Regions from separate parts of the Homo sapiens genome. Here region 1 is linked to region 2. Evidence: promoter capture Hi-C in human tissues and cell types (Jung and others, 2019). All regions are on one chromosome and are shown on one strand. Each heading gives the region's core, a stretch centred on a gene start or on the middle of the fragment in contact. The rest is flanking DNA. Distances are from core to core; before and after follow the strand shown. Region 1 has its middle 14 kb from the start of ACTA1. Region 2 holds the start of RAB4A (RAB4A, member RAS oncogene family).

Evidence for each region. The method cuts DNA at HindIII sites, captures the fragments that hold promoters and counts their contacts. A contact is called where the count stands out against the background at its distance.
Region 1: a contact is called between a fragment that was not itself captured here and the fragment with the promoter of RAB4A in region 2, in 1 of the 25 tissues and cell types used here (dorsolateral prefrontal cortex).

The regions. Positions count from the first base shown.
Region 1 is chr1:229,418,945-229,421,644 of GRCh38, forward strand. No RefSeq gene overlaps it. Among named protein-coding and RNA genes, the nearest start is that of ACTA1, 14 kb to the right of the region's middle. RefSeq lists an enhancer at 1-169. The HindIII fragment of the contact is 9,377 bases long and covers 1-2,700 here.
Region 2 is chr1:229,269,859-229,272,632 of GRCh38, forward strand. RAB4A (RAB4A, member RAS oncogene family) reads left to right here and starts at 1,253. Exons shown (of 8, transcript NM_004578.4): 1 at 1,253-1,512. The coding sequence starts at 1,482. It overlaps RAB4A-AS1 (RAB4A antisense RNA 1), which reads right to left and starts at 1,296. Exons shown (of 2, transcript NR_149313.1): 1 at 1,118-1,296. RefSeq lists silencers at 1,065-1,594, 1,635-1,794. The HindIII fragment of the contact is 8,116 bases long and covers 1-2,774 here.

The DNA.
Region 1 (2,700 bases), core at 68-2,567, 150 kb after region 2:
CCCGTAAGAAAGTTCTTTGTAATTCTCCTCACCCTTGAGAATGTACTTAGTGAGATCCACCCCCTGCCCACAAAACATTGCTCCTAACTCCACCGCCTATCCCCAAACCTATAAGAACTAATGATAATCCACCACCCTTTGCTGACTCTCTTTTTGGACTCAGTCCCCCTGCACCTAAGTGAAATAAACAGCTTTGTTGCCCACACAAAGCCTGTTTGGTGATCTCTTCACACGGACACGTGAGACAGAGACCAGCCTGGCCAACATGGTGAAACTCCATCTCTACTAAAAATACAAAAATTGGCGGGGTGTGGTAGTGCATGCCTGTAATCCCAGCTACTCAGGAGGCTGAGGCAGGAGAATTACTTGAACCCGGGAGGTGGAGGTTGCAGTGAGCCGAGATGGTGCCACTGCACTCCAGCCTGGGTGACAGAGCGAGATTCTGTCTCAAAAAAAAAAAAAAGAGAGAGAGAGAGAGAGAGAGAGAGATGGGGTTTTACCATGTTGGCCAGGCTGGTCTCAAACTTCTGACCTCAGGTGATGCACCCACCTTGGCCTCCCAAAGTGCTGGGATTACAGGCCTGAGCCACTGCACCCAGCCCATGTTGCTGTTTGATCAATATCTGCCTCTCAGCTAGACTGCCAGCTCCCTGAGGGCCGAGACACTGATTTGTAGGTGCTCAGCAAGTGTCGGTTGAATAAATTAGTGAATTAATTGAGGATTGGAGGGGGTGCCAATAAGCAGGGCAATAGCAGGGGAGGGGGTTCTGGATCCGTTTGGAAAATAAGCTGAAGAATAATGTCAACTTGATTTTAGATGTCTTAATTTCTCAGACTGAGGAGCAGCACAGCTCCCTCCCATGTAGTCCCATAACCAGGAAAGTGCATGGAGGAAAAAGGACACAGACACTTCCCTGGCTGGGGGGCCACAGTGCCTGTGCTCTCCTGTAGCCTGGAACAATTCGCTTTGCCTCATGGTGCCCGGGGCTGCCCCTTGGAAAAAATACAGCCACCCAGTGCAGGGCTGGGACTGGGTGTGGGAAGTGAGGCACATCCTCTGTGCTGGTGGTACAAGTGCAAGTGCAGATTCTGGGGCCTCTCACCTCATCCTCATCCCAGCCTGAACCAGTGTTTGCCTTGCCCATGTCGGGAAGAGATCCCATGATAATTTCAGAGATGCTGAGTTTCCTGGCTTAAAAATTCCTGGTCTCCAGTGCCAGCGTGGTGTGGGAAAACACATGCAGCTCCCCCATCCCCCAAACCTGGGAGAATGACCCTGGTAGGTTCCGCCCCAGGGCACCTGGAGATCTGAGCATGGAGGTCTTCCGGGAGCCTCACTGTACCTGCATGGTCCTGCTTCCACCTGCCTGCCTTGCACTGAGCACTAGAGGCTGAAACAAACATTAGCAGAAAATCCAGATTCTAGAAACAGATGACATGCGCCCTGAGATGACGCCCTAACATGCGCCCTGACACGCGCCCAGGGATGACAGGCATCCTTTTGAAGCATTTACTTGAGAAGAAGTTCAAGTAGGGTTAAGTTATTCCATATAACTATATTCCATATCGCACGTCTCCGTTCCTGCAATGGTAGCGATACTCCATAAATATGTGTTGATGAATGGACAAAACTAAAGGGAGGGAAGAAAGTGGGGGAGAATCTTGAGCTCTGTAGCTTTGGAAGGAGAAAGAATACAGTGGAACCTTTTCTGAAGCTCTCAAGGAACGTGTCCTTGGAAAAATGTGACTCTCCCCCTTCTCCTAGCTTGCTCCCTCATCCTGCAGAAAAGCCGCTCCTCCCTCTTCCATGGCAGAATGGTATTGGCAGGGGAAACCTAATGTGCTAGGCAGAGCTGGGAATAGAACTCAGTCTCCTGAATTCCATATATTCTCTTTCCACCGATGTCTGCTAAGTGCATCCAGAATTGCTCTGGTGGACGGGGCAGGTCAATGAAAGCAGCAACTTGAGCTCCTTCCAGCAGGTGCCGCCTTGCATCACCTATGATCCCATGTGTCATTCACGTGTATGATTGTATATGATCCTCTGATCCCCTGCCCAGCCCAAGCCTCTAAGCTCCTCCATCTGTCGCAGGAGCCTGGCCTGTGGTCATCAGCAGGATTGTGAATGGATCCGCCCAAACTTGTCCTACTGGAAAGAGAATTCTGGTCTGCTGGACGAGTAGATCCTTTCTTTTCTGTTTAATTATTCATTTGTGCCATTTGATTTAATATTCTTAATGTTAACATAACGCGTATTTGTTGAAAAAATAATATTGGTGGAAACATTGAGGTACAAAAAGGTCAGGAAGAAAAATCCCCCCTCTTCCACCCCCGGAAGCTGTCATGATGATTTCTCACTTTGGCCTACTCTCTTCGTCCCCTTCGCCCTTCATTCTTTTCTTTTCTTTTTTTTTTTTTTTTTGTATTCATGGTTCAACTGATCCCTGTTGACACATGGCACGTTAGCTTTGGGTTGCGAGGGCTCCAGGCATCTCGGCCTCCCAGCTGGTGGCCTGTCATCCTGGGAAAATTTTCAGATTCGGTGCATTTTTAGGCCCAGGAAAAAGGCAACAGCTTTAAAATAAGGCATCAGAATTTGGGACAAACTTTCCGAAGCCTACATGTGAGATTTGAGATGTTTTTCAGGGGCGGCTAAAGACAAAGCTGGTAAGTAGGGTATGTTGAGGTCTATTTTTAGGG
Region 2 (2,774 bases), core at 3-2,502:
ATTTATGTGGAGGATGGAGCCAAACTGACTCACACACACACACACAAAAGTATGTACTGGCATTTTCCACACAGTCCAGGTCACTTGGGAGCTTAGCCAAGGATATTTTGAGCATTCGACTACCTATTGTGAACAAGGTTGGGAACTATGAGGCGCTATGTGGCCCTGATCAAGCTCAGATGGGCCAAATCCTCAACCAAAATTCTCTTTCCCATAAATGTTTATCTCTACATTTCCCACAGAAGGGGATTCTAACTCAGTTTTGCTTCTGAAACCAAACTATCCAAGGCCAGGTGAGATGACTCATGCCTGTAATCCCAGCAATTTGGGAGGCCAAGGAGGGAGGATGCTTGAACTCAGGAGTTCAAGACCAGCCTGGGCAACATAACAAGACCCCATCTCTACAAAAAATTTAAAAATTGGCGCGGTGTGGTCGTGTGAGCCCCTAGCCCCAGCTACTCAGGAGGCTGAGGCAGGAGAATCGGTTGGGCTGGGCTGACAGTGCCAGACCCTGTTAAAAAATAAAAATTAAAAAAACTCCTAAATTTGGAAACACATCCCCAGCTGAGGGCCGGGAGATACTTCTCAACCGTAATCCAGAACCCTCTAAAATGGGATGTGGAGAGGCTGCAGCCTGTAGTCTTGCGATGACCTTTTAGCACCTGGGCATCTTGCGCTTCTGTCATTCCGCCCACACCCGCTCAGCTCCATCCAAGAGGGCCCGGCAGTTTGGAGTGAAAGCTTAGCTTCCCAACGGGTAAATGAACCTGCCTCCCATTCACAGGGCGGCCTCTGGCTGGACACCTGGGGCCTACTGCCTCCTTGTTACACATTAACCAAGTTCTGGCCTCCATCGTAACAGCGTCAGGGAAGTTTTTTCCTGGCTGACAGCCGCAGATGATGACCGAAGACAACGTCTTAACTGAGACGGGCCAATTTGGCAAATGGACTGCTTTCCTCCCCAGTGCGGGCACCTTCCTCCTCTGTCCGGCAACTGGACCCCACTGTCCCCAGCCCTCTGTCACCCCCAAACCTGCCCACCGCCCGCCTCTACCCGACCCTCCCTCAGGGAAATCGGGACTCAGCCCCCAACGCCCCCACCTGCCGCTCTGCCCACCTCAGCGCACACCGCCAGAGCGCCCAGCCCGCGCACGTGCTTCCGGCGCGCGCCGAAGTCCTCACGCGCCCCGCCCCGGCCTCCCCGTGCGCACGCGCGAACGCGGGGTGGGCCGGGCCTCGCGTAGCCCATCTCCTCTTCCTCCTCGCGGTCGCGGCCGGACGGAGGGTGGAGGGCCCTGCGCCTGCGCGGAGCTGGAGTCCGGCTGGGCCGCAGCCGCTGGGAGACCGGCGGTTGCCGTGGGGACCGGTCGGGCCCCTCCCTCCTCCGGTCCCCCGCCCCAGGTCCTTCCCCACCGAGACGCGCCGGCGGACCGCGGGCGAGTGCAGCCGGTGACCCGGCGAGAGGCGGCGCCGCTCCCAAGATGTCGCAGACGGCCATGTCCGAAACCTACGGTACGAGGCCCGGGCTGGCGGGGCGCGCGGGTCGGGCCGCGGGGGGCGTCGGTGGCGCGGGGCCGGGCCTGGGCTGCGGGGGTCTTGAGGGTGGCGGTGGCGCCGGCCGGAGCCGGGGGACGGATCTCGGAGGTGTCTGGGCTTGGGACCGGGATGGGGGACGCGGGCCGCTGGGGGCTCGGGTGGGGTAGCGGGTGCGCGGGGCGCGGGGGCGCTGTGCACAGCGCATTGGCGTGATCCGCCTTTTCAAGTTTCCTCTTGCTCTTTCTCTGCTCTTGCACTCTTAGCGCTTTTCCCCTCTCAGTCTAATGTAAATAACTGAAGGTTTGAAAAGCCAGCTTGATGTTCGGTTTCAGCTGCGATATTATCCCCAGCGAGCCTGTGAAGGGCTTAGGGCGACGCCTGTGTTCCTCAAATACTTCAGTTTGACCTTTCCTGGTTTGGAATTCCTTGCTTTACATTGGGATTACAGTGAGGAGTTATTAATAGGCTAATTCATTCATCTCTTCCTCCGGAGACCTCTTGCTTCGTTTATTTCTCCCTCCCTCTCAGTGTTTTTTAGCCTTTTCTGGGTTGCATTTTGGCTATTTATAAACATGTCTTGTCTCCTTCTTAAGACCGTAAGCACCTTGGAAGCAAAGCCCTGGCTGTTTAATCTTTGTTTCCCCTGCAGCACCCAGACCTGGAGGTGCTTGACAAATACTGTTTTGAATAAGCGAAAGCTTTCCCAGTGCATATGCTGTGTGCTTTTTTTTTTTTCTCCCCTTTTTTGGCCTTGCGTGGTAAGAATAAACAACTTGTACTTTGTATCAGAGTTGAATATTAATAGATGTTTACCAGTCCCTAATCACTCTTTCAGATGTATGTATTCTCAGATTAAGACTTTGATTTGGAGTTTTACAGTCCCAGAGAGAGGCTCAAGTTCAAAATTACATACCTCAAGCCAAATTAGTCCTGTCTCCATCTGTCCTGGCATGCTGCTTCCTTCTCTGCAACAAATACTGTGGAATGGCATTAGGGAAGCGAGCACCGTGCTGGGAGGGCTGTACATCCTGCAGAAACACAGCAGACACGGCTCTGGTCTCATGGAGCGTAGTCTATTGAGGGAATGCAGTATTAATCCAATTGTGATACTAATGAGTGAATAATTAAAAACCAGGCAAGAGTTCTGAAGGAGTGTGGTCCGTGAAAGTGTGTTAGAAAGAAAGATGACCCAGACAGGGGTGTCAGGGAGGCATTAACCAGGCAGCACGCAGAACATC